4 separate regions of the Homo sapiens genome follow, and regions 2, 3 and 4 are each linked to region 1. Evidence: promoter capture Hi-C in 16 types of primary human blood cells and fetal thymus (Javierre and others, 2016). All regions are on one chromosome and are shown on one strand. Each heading gives the region's core, a stretch centred on a gene start or on the middle of the fragment in contact. The rest is flanking DNA. Distances are from core to core; before and after follow the strand shown.

Region 1 (2,700 bases), core at 159-2,658:
GATAAAGAGGAATAAAATTTTAATTAGGAAATTGAAAAAAAAGGAAAGGGAGAATTTGGGAGGCAATAGGTATTAATAGAAGGACCATGGAACTTGTAATCATACAGACCCTAATTTTAATTCTTACCTATTCTTGAAACACAATTATCTGGAAGACTACAAACTTTCTAAGTACTGTGAGGGGTGGATTGTTACTCTTTATAGTGGACTTGTTACTATTTATAATTGTTGAGAATAAACTTACCACAACAGATTTTCTCTGGAAATTTATGTTGTTGATGCAGACGACCTGATGGGTTGTATATTAATAAATATAAAAAGAAAATAAGGAAAAAATAATTTTTATTATTAAATCAAAGTATAATTCTATCCAAGTATAAATTAGGACTATGTTCTAAGTAATTCAAAATTACATGTCAATATTTCATTTTAAAACTACGAATTGGGGCCTGGTGCGGTGGCTCACGCCTGTAATCCCAGCACTTTGGGAGGCCACGGCAAGCGGATCACGAGGTCAAGAGTTCGAGACCAGCCTGGCCAACAGAGTGAAACCGAGTCTCTACTAAAAATACAAAAGTTAGCCGGGCATCGTGGCACACGCCTGTAATCCCGGCTACTCAGGAGGCTGAGCCAGGAGAAAAGCTTGAACCCGGCAGGTGGAGGCTGCAGTGAGCCGAGATCGCGCCGTTGCACTCCAGCCTGGGCGACTGAGAGACTCCGTCTTAAAAATTAAAAAATTAAAAAAAAAAAAACACTCTACCAATTGGGATAATTTTTTAAAATCTAGCAACAGTCACGAAAACAGATTTGACAGAAATACAATCTAGTACTTAGACAAAAACTTTAGTAACTTGCAACGGGAATTAAATTTGCTGAATAACCTGTCATTCAAAACATTTTTACCTTACAAACACCATTTCCATCACAGTGAGTAAATTCTAGTTTCCCACTAGGTTTCCCAGGCCCACCAAGTCAATTTCAAGCAATCGCAAAATATAATTAATGGCAACAAAACCAAAAGGAAGGAAGGGAAATGAAAAAATACTTATAATTTATATGGCCTTGGGCTTTCAAAGCCCTTGTCTCCTTTCTTCCTGTTCATTCTGGCGGGCTCTACACCAGTCAGCGGCATGAAGCGGTCCCGCGGAGCTTGGCTTCCCGGCTTCCTAGGGGGATACGGGGCATTACTAGTCTTTGGCACCTCACACTCTCCACTCCCCTGCGGTCCCCAAGTCACGTCTCGCAGCTGGCCGGTGCCCAGGTGAGCGACCTGACGGGTCGCTGCCCGCCTCAACCTCGCTCCTTCGACTAGCTCCTAGAAGCCGCCGTCGACAAGCTTCTGTCACAGAGATGCTCCTCTCCGCAAGGGCTCGAAGCTACCATCCGCCGACATCTTGTCTGTAACCTCTGACCTCCGACGTCAGCGGAAGTGGAACGGCGGCGGGGGTAGAACCAGGAAGTCTTGTCAATGGGCAGGGCTTGCGATCTTCGCATGTGTCTTATCGTAAAGAATTGTTAAAATTTAGGATAGGGAAAAAACTATTTAATGGATGAAGCGAGAACAGCAGGAAGAAAAGGAGGGAAGGTAGTTTTCTAGTACAAGCATATTGAGAAGAATGGAGGACAAAGTTTGCGAAGAGCCAGGTATAAATAGGCTGGGGCAGGGTGCTAGTAACTGGGCGGGGTGGGGTGGTGGGAAGTCTCCCGAAATCAGGAGGTGCGTGCCTCTGGCTTGCTGTGTGAACAGACACACTGGGTCCGGTGATTTAAGCTGTAAAATATGTGATTAGACTGCAGGTAGTCTAAATGTCAAAACTGCAGCACTCCACAGCTCTCACTAGGCACTGCTGCCTTAGTATTTATTTTAAAATATAGATTACAAGGCCGGGCGCAGTGGCTCACTCCTGTAATCCCAACACTTTGGGAGGCCGAGGCGGGCCGATCATTTGAGGTCAGGAGTTCGAGACCAGCCTGACCAACATGGTGAAACCCCGTCTCTACTAAAAATTACACAAAATTAGCTGGGCGTGGTGGTGCACGCCTGTAATCCCAGCTACTTGGGAGGCTGGGGCAGGAGAATTGCTTGAACCTGGGAGACGGAAGTTGCAGCGAGCTGAGATCGTTCCACTGCACTCCAGCCTGGGCGACAGAGCTGAGACTGTCTCAGAAAAAAAAAAAAAGAATAAAATATAGACTACAGGCCAGGCGTGGTGGCTCACGCCTGTAATCCTAGCACTTAGGGAAACTGAGGCAGTCATATCACTTGAGGTCAGCAGTTCAAGACCAGCCTGGCCAACATGGTGAAAGCCCGTCTCTAGTAAAAATACAAAAATTAGCCCTGCGTCGTGGCGTGCGCCTGTATTCCCAGCCACTCGGGAGGGTGAGGCACCAGAATCACCTGAACTCGGGAAGCCGAGTTTGCAGTGAGCTGAGATCATGCCATTGCACTCCAGTCTGGGAGACAAAGCGAGACTCCCTCTCAAAATAAATAAATAGACTACATAGAGATATATAGACTGTGTATATATATCATATAATCCATATAAATGCAGAAACATTTATTGAAAGACATTTCGAAGCCATCGTGTTTGTATTTCATGTTCATGACAATAAAACTTGTAAACTTCAGTAACAGTTAAACCTTCTTTAATTATGGATTAGCCATTAACATTTTTGAAACGTGGACCATTTAACCTCGGC
Region 2 (2,700 bases), core at 100-2,599, 600 kb after region 1:
AATTTCTGAGACTGGAAAACAGAAGAAATTACAAAGGAAAAGGCATGTAATAATATAAAATTAAATAACTACAGTAAATGACATAAAAATTTTGTTAAAAGTAAAAAACAAAAGTGGATTAATAATCTTAATAGATAAAACGTCCATAGAAAGTGATAAAGTAACACTGAAACTTCATTATTAAGTAAATGTAAATATTCAGCTGCATATCAAAAGACAACAGCCTTATTTTTAAAGATAATACTGTGCCTGCACAGATTTGGGATAACAAACATTTGTATGCTCTTCTATGGATTAGAAAACTCATGATTGAAAATACCTATCAAAAGACCTATAAATGATCATTCCTTTGATATCAAAACACATTACACTTCCAGGGATTTATTTTAAATAATCCTACATATATGAAAAAAATCAATGGACAAAGACATCACAGGATACAAAATCAATGTGCAAAAATCACTAGCAAAAAGTCACTAACATTCCTAGACACCAGCAACAGTCAAGCGGAGAGTCAAATCAGGAATGTACTCCCATTCACAACTGCCACAAAAAGAATAAAATACTTAGGAATACAGCTAATTAGGGAGGTGAAAGATCTCTATAATGAGAACTACAAACTACTGCCCAAAGAAACCAGAGATGAAGGCTGGGTATGATGGCTCATGCCTGTAATCCCAGTACTGTGGAAGGCTGAGGTGTGAGGACTTCTTGAGCCCACAAGTTCAAGACCAGCCTGGGCAACACAGTGAGCCCCCATCTCAAAAGAAAAAAAACTTTAATAATAAAAAGCAATCAGAGATGACACAGACAAACGGAAAAACACTCCATGCTCATGGATAGGAAGAATCAGTATTGTTAAAATGGCCATACTGCCCAAAGCAATTTATAGATTCAATGCTATTCCTATTAAACTACCACTGAGACTCTTCACAGAACTAGAAAAAAATATTTCAAAATTCATATGAAACCAAAAAAGAGCCTGAATAGCCAAGGCGATCCTAAACAAAAAGAACAAAGCTGGAGGCATCACGCTACCCAGCTTCAAACTATACTACAGGGCTACAGTAACCAAAACAGCATGGTACTGATAAAAAAAAAAAAAAAAAAAAACCAGACACATACACCAGTGGAAAAAAACCCAGAAATAAGACCACACACCTACAACTATTTGATCTTTGACAAACCTGGCCAAAAAAGCAATGGAGAAAGGATTCCCTGTTCAATAAATGGTGCTGGGAGAACTGGCTAGCCATATGCAGAAGATTGAAACTGGACCCCTTCCTTATACCACATACAAAAATTAACTCAGGATGGATTCCAGACTTAACTGTAAAACCCAAAACTATAAAAACCCTGGAAGACAACCTAGGCAATATCATTAAGAACACAGGCATGGGCAAAGATTTCATGACAAAGATGCAAACTGCAATTGCAACAAAAGCATAAATTGACAGATGGGATGTAATTAAACTAAAGAGCTTCTGCACAACAAAAGAAACTAACAGAATAAACAGACACCTACAGAATGGGAGAAAATTTTTGCAAACTATGCATCTGACAAAGGTCTAATATCCAGCATCATAAGGAACTTAAATTTACAAGAAGAAAAAACAAACCCCATTAAAAAGTGGGCAAAGGACAGGAACATACCCTTTCCAAAAGAAGACGTACATATGGCCAACAATCATGAAAAAAAGCTCAAAATCACTGATCATTAGAGAAATGCAAATCAAAACCACAATGAGATGCCATCTCACACCAGTGAGAATGGCTACTATTAAAAAGTCAAAAAATAACAGATGCTGGCAAGGCTGTAGAGAAAAAGGAATGCTTTTACACTGTTGGTGGGAATTTTACACTGTTGGTGGGAGTGTTCAACCACTGTGGAAGACAGTGTGGCGATTCCTCAAAGTCCTACAGACAGAAATACCATTTGACCCAGCAATCCCATTCCTAGGTACATACCCTAAGAAATATAAATTGTTCTATTATGAAGACACATCCACATGTGTGTTCACTGCAGCACTATTCATTATAGTAAAGACATGGAATTAACCTACATGCCCATCAAAGGTAGATTGGATAAAGAAAATGTAGTACATATATACCATGAAATACTACATAGCCATAAAAAAAAGAACAAGATCATGTCCTTTGCAGCAACATGGATGCAGCTGGAGGCTATTATTCTAAGCAAACTAACACAAGAACAGAAAACCAAATACTGCATATTCTCACTTATAAGTGGAAGCTCAATGATGAAAACACAAGTACACATAGAGGGGAACAACACACACTGAGGCCTATTGGAGGGTGGAGGGTGGGAGTAGAGAGAGGAAAATAACTAATGGGTACTGGGCTTAATACCTGGGTGATGAAATAACCTGTACAACAAACCCCCATGATACAAGTTTACTTATGTAACAAACCTGCACATGTAACTGAACTTAAAAGTTAAAAAAAAAAAACAAAAAACAAGAATTGAAAAAAAAGATGTTTATCAGCCCCTTATAAAAGCCAAAATTTTCATTTCAAAAAACAGAACAATGATCAAGTATCGTAAATCATTTTGTGCACTACTACTTAGTAACCAAAAATAATACTTACAAAAAGGTTCTCTGAGAATTTTCTATTAAGTGAAAAAGGATATAAACTTGTATATACAGTTATCCCTCTCCATCTGTGGAGGACTAGTTC
Region 3 (2,700 bases), core at 95-2,594, 630 kb after region 1:
GAGAGGAGGGAGAAATGTTAGGAATCTGTGGAAAATAAAACAAGTAATTTATAAACTTAAAAAATGTTTAAATGTTTCTCCTGCCATCAGCATGAAGAAACCTAAGAATCAGTCAGCTGATGTATCATTTTATGTATTTAAGTAAATATAAATGGTATCACATGTATCTGCAAATATATTCAACATATTTTAAACTCTCTTTTAAAAATATATAAGCATGTTTAGAAATACACCTAAGAACAGAACATTTTATATAAAAAGAAATTGTTATTGGCTGGAAATGAAACACTAGCATAGTGTTTTTGAATTTTTATTTAGGAGCTACAGTTTTTATAAATTTCTTGTTCTTATAGTTTATAGTAATGCTCTATATAGTAGCACTGTTTCTTAGCATATTTTCAGAATCAAACAAATAATTGGAAAAATACTTATCCTTAGGGAAAGGCGTAATTGTTAACTGCTACAGTTAAATTTTTTAATAGATGAATTTAAGCAACTGTGGAAGAATTGAAATAATGAAACTTATTTTAAGGAGTACATTGTTTCATGGGTACCATTACATCATTTCTTTAACTCCTTAGTACAGAGGATTGACAAACAGTACCAAACAGAATTCTGTGTTGCTGTTGGAGCAGATTTCTTCTCTGTGTAGCAAGGTATTGAGGGTTTCTTGGGGGTTTTTTGTTTGTTTGTTTTTATACTTGCCATTTAAGGATGTGTAAGAAAAGGGAATGTAACTTATTAATCTGTTTGCTTGATGACTTGGTTTCTTTAATGTAATATAGGATAATTTTGGTCCTAACTCATATTAAGATACTTTGGACTTTTCATAATAACTGTAAAAGTACTCTGCAAACATAAGTGACATTTTGTTTTTAGGAGATATTTTCAGAAATAAGCTTTATGACTGGTAATTGCTTTAAAGTTTTAAAATTTTATAACATGTTATTGTTAACCTACTTCTTCAACATGCGATTTCAATTTTATGAGAAGACATTCATATACTTGCATTCTTTTTCTCATTGTAGGGCAGGGGATGAAAGTGGAAAAAGCTAAAGTTCTACTAAATTGTCATTTGGGAGTTTTCAATTTTTCTTTCTAAATTCTGATGATGTTTAGGAGATTTATGGCTACTTTAACAGTTATTTTGTATATATAATGATGTAAAATTGGTATATTTTTAACTTTAAAAAAATTACAATATAAAGAATTTTAAGTGGACTCATCTATTTGAAATCAAATTCAGTTTCTAATAGGAAAAAGTGAAAGTTTGCTTTTTTTCTAGTTATTTATTCAACTGTTATGTTTCTGTGAAAACAATTTTTAATGCACAAAATCTTTATTGGCAGTACTTACATTACATTTTCTTATTGTTTTAATAACAAGTAGACTAGCAAATAGTCCTGCAGGGAGAAAGTGATTATTATAATTATAACAGTTTCCCTATGGTGCTAAAATCAAGTCTTGGTTATAATTCCTATAGAAAATCGATATAGTAAAGGAAAAATGATTTTGACCTTAAGATGTATATTTGACTATATAGTAACTTAAAATTTTGGCTTCTGGCCTCTTTTTCCATAAATTTAATAGTCCTTTGAATAGGACGACAAAGTATTTATTTGATGAAGTGGCCTTTACCAATATTAACCTGGCTTTCATCCTCTAAGAATAACTAATTTACTAAATTTTGAAATTTTAAAATTTATCTTTTATCATTTATCCAACATATATTCTACTGTGTATGAGGTACTATACTAGATTTCGGGAACCCAGTAATGAAGTGTACAGAAGAAGCTTCTGTATTTGTGGAACTTACATTTTAGGGGACCAACAGAAAATAAATAACTACAGACATAATAAGAATTATGAAGAAATAAACAGCCTGAGATAGGGAATAAGTCAAGAGACCCTAGTTTAGATAGAGATTAATAAGGCCATACATTTCTCCAAACTATTTGCAGAGACAGCTTATGAATTAGTATATATTTTTTAAGTGCACTGAGAATAAAAAATACCCTGCTTCTATTTTAATCCAGGTAGCCAAGTAGCTCTCTGTATATCCCTGTCCAGTCACCTAATTTTTTGGAGATGCTTCCTTGTATGGATTGAGAAAATTGTTATTTATCATTAATTATCTATATTGCCAAATAAGGGAGGAAAGGAATATAGATGGTATAGTAGAAAGTCTTAAATAGAAGAGCATGTTTTTTAGAAAACTTGACTTTAAGCCATAGCTATGCCACTCACTGGCTTACAGCTCTTAATATTGTAAACTGGAAATAATAATCCCTCTGTTACCTATTTCAGAGTTGTAATAAAAACCAAATTGAAATGTATTTTATAAACTACCAAGTATGATATAAATGATGGTTGCTAACTAATTTTTTATTGTCTTTGAAGTTTATGTGGCCCAAATGATGGACACACATATGTGAAGCAGTTTCCTTAAAAGTATAAAGCGCTAGATATTAGATATTCTCTAAGTAATTTGAAGGTATGATGAAATTTATAGAAATTTTACAGAGAAATTTGTAGAAATCTTATAGAGACTTTTTTTTTTTTTTTTTTTTTTGAGACGGAGTCTCGCTCTGTCACCCAGGCTGGAGAGCAGTGGCGCGATCTCAGCTCACCGCAACCTCTGCCTCCCGGGTTCAAGTGATTCTCCTGCCTCAGCCTCCCAAGTAGCTGGGATTACAGGCA
Region 4 (2,700 bases), core at 63-2,562, 570 kb after region 1:
AGGTTAATTTATTTAATTGAAATGAAATGACAATACCACCTTTCAGTGGAATTTAGAAGTAAAATTGAATGGTATAATCCACCACATAAAGGAATGTGGACATTGACCTCAAAGCAAATTTCCTCTTTGTCTTTTCTCTGCCTGGCAACCATGACTAATCTTTCAAAATCCACCTCAAACGTTACATTTTCTGTCAAGCTCTTCACAACAATTCCTTTCTAACACAGACTGGGCTCCTTTCTCTAGGATTGCCAGAAAGCTTAATGCATGCTTCTACTACAATGTTTCTCTAATCATACTGGCTCTTCCTTGTAAATAACACATGCTGAGTGCTCATTAGATGCCACAAAGTATAATAAAGACTTCACATGAATTATTTTATCCTCACAACTACTTTGTAAGAAAGACACTGTTATTAGTTTCATTCTACAGTGACAAAACTTAGGCTCAGAGTAGCTCAGTAACTTGGCTAAGGATACACAGCTAGGAGGTAGATGGCAGGGATCTGAGTGTAAACAATTTGACTCCGGTGCTTGCAAGCACCATTTTATTCTATATGATGCCTCTTAGGCTGCCAGTCCTTTGAAGGCAGGGCCCTGATATGATTATCTTATACTCCCAGCAGCCACGGTAATGCCTGATACACAGTGGATGCCTAGTATATCTGAGCACAGTACAGAGTACAGTGACCCCCTTGAAAATGCCACTTCATGTGCAAATTCATCTTTAAATAATCGGGATATTTTCCAGATGGTTAATTTGCTTCCAAAGGGGGAAAAGCAGTATCATGGCCAAAGACTAGATAGTTAAGATAGTGGCACAGCTGGAAACATCAACTCATACTGGAGGCAATTAATGATACACATTTTTCAGGAGGTTCCCCTGTGGGGAAAAGAGAGGTTTTTACACTAAATATGGTTTTACTTCTCTCTGTCTCAAACAGAAATGAAAACAAGCATACACACAACTTTTCTGTATTGCTTATTCCTTTCCACTAAAACAACGAAATTCAAGGTAATATAAGAAAGGGGAGGAGAGGGCTATTTATGTCTGTGTTTCTCAAACTTCAGCAGGCATACAAATTGCTTGGATTCTTATGAGAATGCAGGTCCTGATTTCACTTATTCTGTGGAGGGGCTCACGATTTGGCAATCCTAACAAGTTCCCACTTGATGCATTGCTGGTTTATGGACCACATTCTAATTAGCATGGGTTCCCCTTAGACCAAAGACAGAGCTATTTATAAGACAGAGGAGCACCTTCAGTAAGAAATTACTAATACTATCTAACAGAAGGTAACACACATACTTCTTCCTAAACTAGAGATGACTCCATTTGATACACAGTATCTTTCCTGGTTCTTTTCTCCCAAACTGTAGTTCAAGCAGCTTTAGTACTCAGCAAATGTATTTAGGTTCTTTAAAAGTTGGTAACCCATATATGGTAACATGCAAACTAGAATTGAATTCTCAGATTATGTTGCTTACATACCCTATTTTGTGCTGAGGTGACCTAATCTCTTCACTAGATTAAATAGTTTTTAAAAACAAGAAGGGTGGCATCTAGCACATTACTTTTCATACTATGAATGCTTAAATATTTGAAACTTAAATGAAACGGCTTAATCTTTTAAAAGAGGGATGATAGGTGAATGTATATTGTACATTAGCCCTACTTCTTTGTCACTGTTTCATTGGAAATAACAAATTATGTAGTTTTAAAATGTGCGTTAATGTTATATAAGGTTAATATATTTGTAAATAATAACAGTATTCTAAAATAATCACAGGAAATCTTTAGAGGGATATTTCAAATGCCATTTCTGAAAGCTAACACCTGTCAATTTTTTTCATATAAATTATACAAATTTACTCCTTGACAGAAATATAAGTTGTATTTTAATGAAATTACCATGATTGTTCTTTAGACATGTAATACAAAGTATCCAAAATTGTATATATTAGAGTTGCATTAAAGTAAGGCCTGTTAAGAAAAATGTCTATTTTAGTTATAGTTAGACAAGATTTAAGTAAGGAGCAAAACCCAAAACATGAATTTATCACACTTCATGAACTGAACATCAATTTCCCTTTCAGGGAGGATATGATTCCATTCATGCATTCATTTATTCAACAAATTGACTGGTCAGGTCCTGCTGTGGGCGCCGGGAATAAAGTAGTGAGCAGGACCCAGTCCTCATCTTTATAAAGCAGTTTCTAACAGTGGATTATATATGTGTGCATGTGTGTGTGTGTGTGTGTGTGTGTGTGTGTGTGTGTAATTGTTATCTAATACAGCTATGATATATATTTTATATACAATTTATATATAGTATACTTATATATAAAAATATATGAAACACACACAAGCTTTGATCTTTGAAGTGAAAGACGAAAGTTTTAAATTTTCATTTATGTGCTTAAAATATACTTGGGAGATTAATGAATCATCTAAGAAATAGCTAACATAAAACTTTCCTTAATTCATTCTCTAAATTGTGCTAAACTTTCCATAGCTATCAAATGTTCTGTAACAACTATCTATTTTGCAGATACTTGTCACTAGCAAAAACTGCCTTTATACAAAGTAACTTTCGAAAATAGTATTACATTTTGAGTGAGAAAACAGAACTTTAAAAAGCCTCATCTGAGTTGTAGAAAATATTCTCTGGTGCTTGTGACTGCTCAAAAACAGTTAAAA

What was found. Contacts are between HindIII fragments. The CHiCAGO score rates a contact against its expected background, and 5 or more counts as called.
Region 2: a contact is called between a fragment that was not itself captured here and the fragment with the promoter of TAF2 in region 1, in 6 of 17 cell types (total B cells, naive B cells, total CD8 T cells and 3 more). The highest score is 9.2, in total B cells.
Region 3: a fragment that was not itself captured here is called in contact with the fragment with the promoter of TAF2 in region 1 in 3 of 17 cell types (total B cells, fetal thymus and naive B cells); the score reaches 6.2 in total B cells.
Region 4: a fragment that was not itself captured here is called in contact with the fragment with the promoter of TAF2 in region 1 in 2 of 17 cell types (naive B cells and erythroblasts); the score reaches 5.5 in naive B cells.

The regions. Positions count from the first base shown.
Region 1 is chr8:119,831,433-119,834,132 of GRCh38, forward strand. It overlaps TAF2 (TATA-box binding protein associated factor 2), which reads right to left and starts at 1,409. Exons shown (of 26, transcript NM_003184.4): 1 at 1,050-1,409; 2 at 245-299. The coding sequence starts at 1,132. DSCC1 (DNA replication and sister chromatid cohesion 1) reads right to left here. Exons shown (of 9, transcript NM_024094.3): 9 at 2,544-2,700. It overlaps LOC105375728 (a long non-coding RNA gene), which reads left to right and starts at 1,447. Exons shown (of 4, transcript XR_928590.3): 1 at 1,447-1,644. RefSeq lists enhancers at 1,061-1,110, 1,171-1,530. The HindIII fragment of the contact is 3,868 bases long and covers 1,335-2,700 here.
Region 2 is chr8:120,427,035-120,429,734 of GRCh38, forward strand. The region is part of intron 3 of MRPL13 (mitochondrial ribosomal protein L13); the gene reads right to left. Among named protein-coding and RNA genes, the nearest start is that of MRPL13, 17 kb to the right of the region's middle. The HindIII fragment of the contact is 7,630 bases long and covers 1-2,700 here.
Region 3 is chr8:120,463,106-120,465,805 of GRCh38, forward strand. It overlaps MTBP (MDM2 binding protein), which reads left to right. Exons shown (of 22, transcript NM_022045.5): 10 at 587-656. Among named protein-coding and RNA genes, the nearest start is that of MTBP, 19 kb to the left of the region's middle. The HindIII fragment of the contact is 895 bases long and covers 898-1,792 here.
Region 4 is chr8:120,404,314-120,407,013 of GRCh38, forward strand. The region is part of intron 6 of MRPL13 (mitochondrial ribosomal protein L13); the gene reads right to left. Among named protein-coding and RNA genes, the nearest start is that of MRPL13, 39 kb to the right of the region's middle. The HindIII fragment of the contact is 2,110 bases long and covers 258-2,367 here.